3 separate regions of the Homo sapiens genome follow, and all the other regions are linked to region 3. The links are contacts of gene promoters, found by promoter capture Hi-C in blood cells and fetal thymus (Javierre and others, 2016). All regions are on one chromosome and are shown on one strand. The core of a region is centred on a gene start or on the middle of the fragment in contact, and the rest is flanking DNA. Distances in the headings are between cores, read along the strand shown.

Region 1 (4,175 bases), core at 1,277-3,776, 81 kb before region 3:
ACAGAAAATAAGTTGCCAAAAAACGAAATTACTAAATTTAATAACAAGCAGCAATTGTAAATAAAAATTTACACGAGGAAGAAAATGAAATACCGTTTCACTACTGGACAATATTTTCTTTAAAAATATACTTCGGGAAATAAACAGACAATATCTTAAGCCTATCTTATCAAAATTTATTAACAATTAGTGCTCCTAAGCCAACTGAATTTCAGACTAACTTCCTGAAGAGTGAAAGCTGTCAATCACCAAAAAACACACTGTGGCAATGGCAATAAAGATAACAGTGGCTACCATTTATTGGGCACTCTCTGTGCCTGACTCTGCACTCCAGGGACTTTACACACATACCCAGTTCTTATTAACCATGCAACCTAAGTATCACTGACCCCACTCTCATGAATGTGGAAACCAAGGCTCACCAAGTGAAAGGACCCACCTAGAGTCACATAGGTACAATTGGGCAGAGCACTCTGGGGCTAGAGTTCTTGCTGATATAATAAACTTCTTAACTTGTCTAAAATAATCTTTCTATCTAGTGACTAGCTAACAGTTTAGTCAGAAAATTCCTCCAATTTCAAAATTGCTATATTTACCTAAGTATATGCTTCTGAATACCTTTAGGGAATAAAAACACACTGGCATAAAGGGGAAAATGGTGTTAGCATAAAAGAAGGGCATGAATTCCTGTGGAAAGTAATCAAGCATTTGGAAATGAAGAATATGGTTTCTAACATGACTTGCTTTACTGCAGGTAACTAGCAAGTACCACAGTAATTCTACCTGCACAGTGACAGACTTACCAGATGGCAGTTTATGTTGGAAAAATGCAGCATTTACTAGGGGAAGAAACTCTTACTGCTAGCAAGAACAATGTACATAGAATCAAACTATTACGTAGGGCATAATCCTAGATCCTAAATAATAACATTCAACAGTGGTTTTTGGCTTCCAATCTCCAATATGTATTCATTACTTCAACAAAAACATATAGAGAACCACACTCACTCTCCATGGAATGGTAACAAGCTGAACTATAAAAATGGGTTGGGGTAGTCTCTATCAGAATTTGGAGAGAAGAGTTAAAATTCCTGCCAAGAATAACCTCTGAACACAATTTTAACAAAAATATAAACATCTGTCTCATTTTCCTATGAGTCTAAGATTAAAACTCATTTTCAGAGTAAACACTACTAAGCTTCCCTATAGCAACAGGTTTTAAAAAATCAAACTTTGCAAACTTAGAATCTATCAATAGCAAACTACACTTTTTTTTTTTTTTTTTTCCTGAGATGGAGTCTTGCTCTGGGATTCTAGGCATGAGCCACCACGTCCAGTCTGGCTTTTCTTGCTTTCCTTCCTTCCTTTCCCTCCTTCCTTCCCTCCCTCCCTTCCTTCTTCTTCTTCTTTTTTCCCTCCCTCCCTTCCTTCCTTTTCTCTTTCTCTCTTCTTTCTTTTTTTTCCAGACGGGGTCTTGCTCTGTCACCCAGGTGGGAGTGCAGTGGCATGATCTAGGCTCGCTGCAACCTCTGCTTCCCAGGTTCAAGCGATTTTTCTACCTCAGCCTCCAGAATAGCTGAGATTATAGGTGTGCACCACCACTCCAGGCTAATTTTTGCATTTTCAATAGAGACAGGGTTTCAGCATGTTGCCCAGGCTGGTCTCGAATTCCTGACCTCAAGTGATCCACCCGCCCTGGACTCCCAAAGTGTTGAGATCACAAGCGTGAGCCATCGCACCCAGCCACACACTATACATTTATCTGCTGAATAAAAATTACTTCCTACAAAAAGGAGGCTGGGAGTAGAGGATAGGGAGAGTAATCAAACTCATATTGACAGGATCAAGCATAAACTTCAGCAGAACTTTAAAGAATCTTTAAGTAAACATGCCATAATGGCTGTGAGATCACCTGAGCTAAACCCTCCTGACTAGAGCTTGGTTACATAGCAGAGAAGTAAAGTGATTTTCAAATTAGTTGGATCTCTGTATCCACCAGGGTAAAATCAAGGGAGTTGATACATAGATTTTGAAAATCTTAACCTTGCAATTCAATTCTGTTTTTAAAAAGAAGTATTCTAACCTTTTTTCTATATAGCAAATTCTATATCTTTAACCCAGATCTTTTTCCTACACTCCAGACTTATATGTCTAACTATCCACTTTACTTGGACCTCATTTGGATCTCTGCTTAGACACCTAATAGGTATTTCATATTCAGCCATGTCCTGATTTTCCCCTCAAAACCTGCTCCTCCTTCAGTCATGCCTGTCACAGCAAATGGCAACTCCACAGGTCAAAACTTGTTTTCCTTGATTATTGTCCTTTCCTCATCCCCACAATCAATCCATCAGCAAAATCTCGTGGTTTTACCTTCAAAAGTACATCCAGAAACTAATCCGTTCTCCCCGCCTCCTCACTGTAGCCTAGTCCAAGTCAATGGGATTATTAAAACAACCTCCTAACTGGTTTCTCTGCTTCTTCTCTTGTCTCCTTACAAACTATTCTCAACAGAGCAACCAGAGTAATCATGTCACAACTGAAATCTGGCAGCCCTCTTTTGCTCAAAACCCCAGTGGCTTCTTCTCTCACCTGGTATCAGCTCAAAAGGCCTTCAGTTTTACACAGAGAGCCCTTAAACTAACACCACCTAATTTCTGAAAAGCTGCCCCTCTATTTTGACACAAATAAATGGAATAAGTATACAAACAATTAAGAAACAATGGTAAATCTGGTGGCATGAGATGATGGTCTAAATTCATTTAACTCACACCTCTCCCAAATTCCCCGTGAAACAACCAGAGAAATGTAAAATTGGAGGAAAAATCTTCAAAGCAATAACTTAAAAGCTAATGAGGGCAGAGCTAGCCTACCAGAAGTGCTGACCAACCCAAAACTGAGCCTACCTGGGGGTAAGCAACCTAAGGCTCAGGTCAAGGTGAGGGTATACATGGCAATTCTCACATCTGCAAATACATTCTGAGACAGGTACTTTGAAACATGCAACAAGAATGTACAGAAGAGAACACCAACATGGCTGGATCTTAACAAGGATCGGTGTGCCACAGAGAGGAGTGAAACTGTGTCCCAGACAACTTTAGGAAAGAAACGACTGTTTCAGAATAACAAACATCCGTGCCCCATAGAACTTCCTGCTAGAGCTCTCTCCTCTATCATCATGGGCAACTGGCTGCTAATCTGGCAAAGGTTAAGGTACACTGTATAAGTATCACCTTATCTCTTACGTTAATGTAGGACTGAACATTTTAAACAGTAACATATATAATTTCTAAAGATAAAGTTATAAATACTATTTGGCAATTAGGAACAAAACTGTTAGAAATTTGCAGCTGAGGCCGGGCGCCGTGGCTCATGCCTGTAATCCCAGCACTTTGGGAGGCCGAGGCGGGCAGATCACGAGGTCAGGAGATCGAGACCATCCTGACTAACACGGTGAAACCCCGTCTCTACTAAATATACAAAAAATGAACCAGATGTGGTGGCGGGTGCCGGTAGTCCCAGCTACTCAGGAGGCTGGGGCAGCAGAATGGCATGAACCCGGGAGGTGGAGCTTGCAGTGAGCCAAGATCGCACCACTGCACTCCAGCCTGGGCGACAGAGCGAGACTCCATCTCAAAAAAAAAAAAAAAAAAAAAAAACTGTAGCTGAAACTTGTTTAAAACATAGATGGTCCCTATGATCTCTAGCTAAAAGGGTATTACAGGACCTTGATTCCACATTCTTTAGGGGAAGCAGGAAGAAAAGCCCTGGCAATATTCTTCTCTCTGGTGGAATAGTGCTTCCTATTTCACTGTCAACACTCAATTTATTCCTTTTCTGTCAGTACATCTTTATGAAGCTTGGCAAGCACCCATCCTTTGTCTTACGGTACTGCACCCATCAGTGTACAAGTATGCCCTTTATCCTCCCTTCTCTGATCCTCATTAGCCCTACCGACCCATTTCACTATTCCACTTTATAAAAAAATTTTAAAAACAAGGTTGCACTTGTACTAATGCCACTTCCTCACCTTCTGTATCTTCTTCAACTCTGTGTAACCGTGTTTCTGCCCCCTCACTAATTCACTGAAAATCCACGTCTAAGGCACCTTGGCTTACTCAACCTCTAACAGCATTTTACACAGTTGACTCATGAAACACTCGCTATACTTTTTT
Region 2 (4,255 bases), core at 363-2,862, 80 kb after region 3:
AATAAGGCACAGGCCTAGTCTTATATTTTAAGTTTAGCTAAAGAGACACACAAAACAACAGAAAATAATAGAATACTATTCAAATCAGGTACGAAGTGGGGTAGTCTAAGCTATAGTTGGTAGAGGAGTTCAGTGAAGGTTTCTAAATACAAGGAAGGTGTGTAGTAAAGAATTTGGCCTTGTCCAATGAGAGATCTGGTCTCTCATTGGCTTTTGGGAGGTTATCTGTGTCATACCTGATAGCAGTGTCTTTGCTCTGTGAGGGAAGCTCACTTGGAGAAAGGCTCACAGGAACAGGTGTTGCTCCACGCCTTTCTTTTAGTGGCTCCACCCCCTGATAGTGGGTGAGATCAATCATTTGCTTATGACACAGTCCTAGACTTAAGAGTTGGAAGGACTCTCAGGCAGTCATCAGGTGCATCCCAGAATTATTTTATCTTTACTGATGATGCAGCTCCTGCCAGGTCACATGGAAAGCAGGGGAGCTAGAACTCGGGTTCTGTGTCATCCTACCCCATGTTCTCTCTGCCACATCACATTGCCTGCTCGTGACACTGGACCACTGTAATCATGGACGGTACTCTGTCCCTGAGCTTCTGGGGTGAAACTGGCTATTAACCCTTGCCATGTCTCCCTTCCCTGAGCCTTGAATCCTGCTTGCCCTGTGGTGCCCCCATGTCCCCCAGTACGGTTCTCCCCGCTGCCCTCTATAACCAAGCACCTGGCAGGTTATTGCTTTTCCATAAAGCTGGAAAACTCTTAGACAGTGAGAGGCAGGTGGCCAGACTGCTGCTGTCCTTTGAAGGTTTAGGGCCAAGACTGAGCAGCAATTGAAAGTATCCATTGAACACCTGCTGTGAGTAAGACATCGCCTCTATCTTAAGCCTTTGCTCTATTCCAATGGAAACTACAGTTTCCAGGCTCCCATGTCCATTGGCTTCTGGAGGGGTTTGACCAGTAGATGGCAATGATGGATGACTAGGAGGTAGCAGAGGGAAGAACCAGGTATTTCCCCCATCCTCCACCCTAAGTGGCATGTCCATCAGCAGGTTGGTGTTTTCCCTGACATCTAGCTAGTTCTCCTGACATCTAGTTCCCACCACTGCTCCCCTTCCATGGCTCTGCTGTCCCCTATCTTAGAGGTGGTGGTGCCCTTCTGCTGTGGCCAGTCTCTGCGTTGTTTCACTGTTTCCTGTTTGGCCTCTCAGCTCTTCCCATACAGTGGGTAAACAGGTCTCTATATTAAATTCCTTCTGAAATACCTGGTGGTCTCCATTTTCTTGGTTAGACCTTGACTGATTAATGGCTCATGTAACATCCGTCCATCGGGGGACTTATGATAGGTTGGAGAGTCAAGAATTAAATATATGCAGCCTGTAATCCCAGCACTTTGGGAGGCTGAGGCGGGCGGATCATCTGAGGTCAGGAGTTCTAGACCAGCCTGGCCAACATGGTGAAACCCTGTCTGTACTGAAAATACAAAAACTAGCCAGGCATGGTGGCGCACGCCTGTAATCCCGATTACTGACAGGCTGAGGCAGGAGAATCGCTTGAACCCAGGTGGCGGAGGTTGCAGTGAGCTGAGATCATGCCACTGCACTCCAACCTAGGTGACAGAGCAAGACTCCGTCTCAAAAAAAAAAAAAAAAGTATATATATATATGTATGTAAAATACTAGTAAAATAAAATGTAGAGATTCCATACATGTACTAAAAATCACTGAGTTATTAGCTGGGCTTGGTGGCTCACACCTGTAATCTCAGCTACTTGGGAGGCTGAGGTGGGAGGATCACTTGAGCCTGGAAGTCAAGGCTCCAGTGAGCTGTGATTGTACCACCGCATTCCAGCCTGGGTGACAGAGCAAGACTCTGTCTCAAAAAAATAAATTATCAGCCAGGTGTGGTGGCTCACGCCTGTACTCCCAGCACTTTGGGAGGCCAAGGTGGGTGGATCACGAGGTCAGGAGTTTGAGACCAGCCTGGCCAATATGGTGAAACCCTGTCTCTACTAAAAATACAAAATTAGCTGGGCATGGTGGCACATGCCTGTAATCCCAGCTACTCGGGAAGCTGAGGCAAGAGAATCACTTGAACCGGGGAGGCAGAGGTTGCAGTGAGCTAGGATGGTGCCATTGCATTCCAGCCTAGGCAACAAGACCGAAACACCATCTCAAAAATAAATAAATAAAATAAAATATTCAGGAGAAAAAATGAAAAATGAAGAGTGAGTAGATTAGACTAGTGATCTCCAAACATTTTTATCACACTCCCCTAATGGCAAGAAACAACATTTGAGCTTGCACCTCCATATTTATGTACTTATTTATTCAAACTGTGTACATGTTAAACCCTGTTGGTATATGATGCCTTATAAAATAGCTACAAAATATAAATGTAAACAGAAAAACAGGTAAATAGAAGTCCTGGTGATTCATTGCTTTACCTCAATGAGTCATCTTACACATCTCCTGTGGTGCCTACCCCACTTTGAAATCATAAACCGCTTGTAGAAGTGGCCATCAAAGAGCTCTGCAAGGGACTGCAAGAAAGAAGGACTGGGGGCCAGGTGCAGTGGCTCACACCTGTAATCCCAGCACTTTGGGAGACTGAGGTGGGCGGATCACAAGGTCAGGAGTTTGAGACCAGCCTGGCCAATATGGTGAAACCCCGTCTTTACTAAAAATACAAAAATTAGCTGAGCATGGTGGCAGGTGTCTGTAGTCCCAGCTACTGGGGAGGCTGAGGCAGGAGAATCCCTTGAACCTGGGAGGCGGAGGTTGCAGTGAGCTGAGATTGCTCCACTGCACTCCAGCCTGGGCAACAGAGTGAGACTCCATCTCAAAAAAAAAAAAGAAAAAAGAAAGAAAGACTGGGGAGTTCTTTCTTTTTTTTTTAAAGGAGGGTTTAAATTAGGCTAATGCAGCAATAACAGCCACACTTTTGATGTTTACACATTTCTTTACAGTTCTTGAAGTCTCGCTCTGTTGCCCAGGCTGGAGTGCAGTGGCACGGTCTCGGCTGACTGCAAGCTCCACCTCCCAGGTTCACACCACTCTCCTGCCTCAGCCTCCCAAGTAGCTGGGACTACAGGCGCCCGCCACCACGCCCGGCTAATTTTTTTTTTGTATTTTTAGTAGAGATGGGGTTTCACCGTGTTAGCCAGGATGGTCTCAATCTCCTGACCTCGTGATCCGCCCGCCTCGGCCTCCCAAAGTGCTGGGATTACAGGCGTGAGCCACCGTTCCGGCCCTTTTTACAGTTCTTAAATGCTTTCTGACCTGTGTTATCTCATTGACTCTTTCAAATAATGAGAAAGGAAGTGAATCAAAATAGGAGATAGATTGGGGAAAACTTGAACGTGTGACCAAGAGGAGTTTGGACTTGATCATAAAAGTAATGATGCTTTATCAGATGTGTCACATCACAGAGCAGATATTTACAGTCCAAAGTCCCTCCCTAAATGATTGGCCTCACCCACAATGACTGGGTGGAGCCACCGAAAGAAAGGCATGGAGCAACACTTCTTCCTGCATCGCCCCTCAAAAGAGCAGATCCCAGTTCTCTGAAGATAAATGGAAGGCAGCCATGAACTTCCCCCTCTTTGAGGTTTATCTTTCAGCACCTTAGCACCTCAGAACAACAGAGAATTAGTAGGCTTAGCCTACTATCCTCCTATCCTTTCTCTCGTGTGCTAAAGTTCCATACAATATTACTGGTGTATTCCCTCTCCAAAATGATGCCTTAATACATTTATGTGAACCTCTCAGCCAGGAGTATGTATGTAGCTATTGTCATTCCAAGACATTTTCTCTGTTCCCATTGTCCATTTCTCCTTCAGCTGCGTGAGCTCAGGGGCTTATGTTTTACACACTATATTCAGCTCCATTTCCAGGAAACAAAACTGAACTTTGTCCTGATCCCGCTTTATCCCTTTCTCCTGATCCTGTCCCTCACCTGCTGAGCTGTCTGTCCTGCTCACTGCAGGAGCACTATGAGAACCACGTGGAGTGGCCGACAGGATAGGGCTTTGAAAAGTACAAAGCTGCCCTCTGTAGAAAACACCCTAAAGCAGAGGTTCCCAACCCCCAGGCTGCAGACCAGTACAGGTCCGTGGCCTGTTAGGAACCAGGCAGCACAGCAGGAGGTGAGTGACGGGCAAGCAAGCATTACTGCCTGAGCTCTGCCTCCTGTCAGATCAGCAGTGGAATTAGATTCTCATAGGACTGCAAACCTTATTTTGAACTCCGCGTGCGAG
Region 3 (3,698 bases), core at 908-3,407:
CAGCTACTCGGGAGGCTGAGGCAGAAGAATTGCTTGAACCCGGAGGCGGAGGTTGCAATGAGCTGAGATTGCGCCACTGCACTCCAGCCTGGGTGACAGAGCAAGACTGTCTCAAAAAAAAAAAAAAAAAAAAGATAAAATCAGCGAAGGGCCTATCCTGCTCTCAAGAGATAAAATAGGTACATAAATACCTACAAGATAGAAAGTGTAAATGCCGCGAGAGATGTGCAGAAAAAGCATTACAGGAGCCCAGAGGGAGCTGTTACCACCTCACAGAAATATAACCCCTTCAATCTGTTTAAAACAATTTTATAACTATTAACTCCCTTTAGGCTCACAACAGCCAACCCTAGGAGAGTAGATGTTTACCTAATATTCAAGATGAGGAAACTGAAGCACAGAAAGGTTGATCAAGTTCCAAAATCACATAGTTAGAGCAAGAATCAAGATACTTTGTATTATATTTTCTCCGGGGGAGTAGTTCAACATATGGCAAGCCTTTTGTAAAAGGAAAGAGTATTTTAGTATTGTAAGTAATCAGTTCCTACTGTGAGCATTTTATACATAGCTATATCCATATATACAATTAATCTTGATTTCCATTAACAGGTGTGCTTAAAGCAAGGCCAAGCAACTGGGTACTATAAATATTAAAACAAATAAATAAACTTCCACCGGATGTTAACAGAAAAAGAAAAAAAGATACAAGATTTCTCTCTCCAGTAACTTGCGGTTACTTCTTCTGTAATTGTTACCCTTGTCTAAATAACATTCTAAAATTGGTCTGCTCCTGAGCCCGGGCAAGTACAAGTTGGTTCATCCAATAAATATCTTCATGAAAAGGTACATCAAAACATTTTAAAAAGCTATTAAAAATTAAACGATGCCATCAACTCTTCAGTTATCCACAGGACAATCACATGTGACCCAGCATCAGCAGCTATTGATCAAGATATATTGAACGAATGAATGAATCTTTGTAGGCATTTTTAAATCCCGGGCCTGTTGCTCCTTGCACAGTGCCATGTTCAGCCTTCCATCACTGCCTCACCAGGGTGCACACAAGGAATGTAAATTTCAATATAATTAGGATATAATTAGAGAAGCAAATCTGATGCAGGTTTACATACTAATCCCAAAGATTAGAATTACCTATACTACTACTCTCCAAGGTTAACTCTGTGGAAGAGGCACCGCAGCATGCAACATCACATAAAGAAAACTGACACTTCCTGAGCAAATAGTTTTCGTCCATATCACTTATTCCCATCCATTCCTTTAATACATGACTATTCCTGATCCAGTTAATTTGAAGAATTCAGTCTCCTCTCCATAAAGGCTGATTTCACAACTACAGTTTCTCAAATTCCTCTCTCCCCAAAAAGGGGTGCACTTACGGACTTCGCTTAAGAAAACACCAACAATAAACGGCAGAAGGTATAGTGTTCGGATCTTTGCCATCTCCACCAGTACCCAGCCTTCGCCATTACACCCTGAAGCGGTCTGTTAGAAAGGTGAACTAATTTACTCTGCACGCACTTGTCCATGGCTGTCAACCTCCGCAGCCCCTTCTACACTTCCAAGTCGGCCACCAACTCCGCCTCAGTGAGCCCAGGCCCGCCACCTGCGCCGGCCCCACCCGGGGCACCGGCTGCCCGCTCTCCCTCGCAGGCCCTGTAGGCTCCGCACGCCCCTCCGCACAGGACACCTCGGGGCCAGCCCCGGCCCGGCCACAGCCCATTCTTCCTCCAAACTCCATAAGCCTCCGCTAGCCCAGCCCGAGCTCCCCGCCGCGCCCGGCTCTCTCCTGGGCTGCCGAGTGGAAGAGGCCAGGCGGCCAGGACGGGTCCCGACCTGCCCAGGCCTGCGACACCCCCCGCCCGGCGGAGAAACCGTCCCAGCGGCTGCTGCCCCGGGAGCCCTCGGAAGCCCCCGGACTAGCAGGAGCCCGGAGGCCGGGGTTGCAGGCGCCAGGGCCTACTCACCGGGAGCTGGCTAAGCGTGGGAGCCGACGTGCGCCCCGGCCTGAGGAGTGGGACGCGGCCACGGCGCGCGGCCCTACACCGGGACCTCGTTCGGCGCGGCGAGTCGGACGCTCACTCCAGCCGCCGCCGCCGCCGCGGCTGCTGCTTCGCCACCTTGGCCGCCATCTTGACTCAACCCCTCTCCCTCCCCCCAGCCCGCGGAGCCGCGGCTAAGGCGGCTCCAGCGCCGGCTCCTCCTCCTTCCGGAGAGTTGGGAGACCAACTCCCTCCGCTGGCCGGGCGCCTCTCCTACCTCGGCGGAGCTTCCCGGGTCGCGCTGCGCCCGGTCTCTTCATGTCTCCTCTAGGCCTGGCAGCGGCGGTCCTCTCGGACGGATACGGGGCCGAGCAGCGCCCAGCCGGATCCAGCGCTGCTGCCATCGTGCCCTGGGCTTGTGCGCCCCCCGCCTGCCCGTCTGTTCCGCGCGCCCGAGGCCTTCCTCAGGCGTGGGAAAAGGAAAAACTCCAGGCCGTGGAAGGGACCCTGCAAACCCCTCCGCGGCGTGGTGGGGCGGCGGCGGCCTCCTCTGGCCGGAGCTGCGTACAGGGAAGCCGGTCCCCTCGTGGCTGGGAGCTGGAGGGGTGCATTTCGACCTGCCCAAGATACTTTCTAGGGCTCTGGCTGGAATTCGCACCAAGCCCTCACTGAAATGCTGGGCGAGGCCGATTTGTCCACGATGTTGCTCCTTAACCTTAAGTTACTTGCAAGAGGAGCCTGTGGCCCTCGCGACTGTTAAGTGCACGCTCAGCCTCACCCTGCTGGGGAAACGACGGTTCCTCGTAACCGCACGCATACGTTCCTTTAGAAAAGCCAGGCCCGACCGGACGCAGTGGGTCACGCTTGTAATCCCAGCACTTAGGGAGGCCGAGGCGGGCCATCACTTAAGGTCAGGAGTTCGAGACCAGCCTGACGAACATGGAGAAACCCCGTCACTACTAAAAATACAAAAATTAAGCGGGCGTGGTGGCGCGCGCCAGTAATCCCAGCTACTGGGGAGACCGAAGTGGGAGAATTGCTTGAACGCGGGAGGCTGAGGTAGCAGCGAACCTAGGTCGCGCCACTGCACTCCAGCCTGGGCGACGGAGCCAGACCGTTTCAAAAAAAAAAAAGAAAGGGCCGGGCGCGGTGGCTCAGGCCTGTAATCCCAGCACTTTGGGAGGCCGAGGCGAGCGGATCACGAAGTCAGGAGTTCGAGACCAGCCTAGTTAACATGGTGAAACCCCCTCTCTACTAAAAATACAAAAATTAGCTGGGCGTGGTGGCGCGCGCCTATAGTCCCAGCTACTCGGGAGGCTGAGGCAGAAGAGTCGCTTGAACCCGGGAGACAGAGGTTGCAGTGAGCCGAGATCGCTCCACTGCACTCCAGCCTGGGCGACAGAGCCTCTCAAAAAAAAAAAAAAAGGTAAAGAAAGCCATCCAAAAGTGAGAAGGAATAACAAAGTTGGTGTAACTGGCTATTTTGGAAAACTGTCATACGGATAACGGGCTGTCTAACCCTATAATTACGAGAAAGGCCCGAGTTTTAAGAAATGAATTCGAAAATGAAGAGGAAGGAACTCTTCCTATAAGTGGGAGCTTATATATAAGACGCTTCCTTTTAAACCGATTGTACAGTGTGGTAGGACTAGGGTAGGAAACTGGACGGCATGGAGACTTCTGTGTTAAAACACAAGA

Evidence for each region. The method cuts DNA at HindIII sites, captures the fragments that hold promoters and counts their contacts. A CHiCAGO score of 5 or more calls a contact.
Region 1: a fragment that was not itself captured here is called in contact with the fragment with the promoter of NCOR1 in region 3 in 1 of 17 cell types (M2 macrophages); the score reaches 5.8 in M2 macrophages.
Region 2: a contact is called between a fragment that was not itself captured here and the fragment with the promoter of NCOR1 in region 3, in 10 of 17 cell types (M2 macrophages, M0 macrophages, megakaryocytes and 7 more). The highest score is 12.6, in M2 macrophages.

The regions. Positions count from the first base shown.
Region 1 is chr17:16,131,524-16,135,698 of GRCh38, forward strand. All of the region lies in intron 14 of NCOR1 (nuclear receptor corepressor 1), which reads right to left. Among named protein-coding and RNA genes, the nearest start is that of SNORD163, 20 kb to the right of the region's middle. The HindIII fragment of the contact is 2,661 bases long and covers 1,197-3,857 here.
Region 2 is chr17:16,293,770-16,298,024 of GRCh38, forward strand. The region is part of intron 2 of PIGL (phosphatidylinositol glycan anchor biosynthesis class L); the gene reads left to right. Among named protein-coding and RNA genes, the nearest start is that of MIR1288, 14 kb to the left of the region's middle. The HindIII fragment of the contact is 8,760 bases long and covers 1-4,255 here.
Region 3 is chr17:16,213,377-16,217,074 of GRCh38, forward strand. NCOR1 (nuclear receptor corepressor 1) reads right to left here and starts at 2,158. Exons shown (of 46, transcript NM_006311.4): 1 at 1,986-2,158. RefSeq lists enhancers at 954-1,870, 1,871-2,786, 2,364-2,423, 3,610-3,698 and a silencer at 1,624-2,093. The HindIII fragment of the contact is 4,024 bases long and covers 1-3,698 here.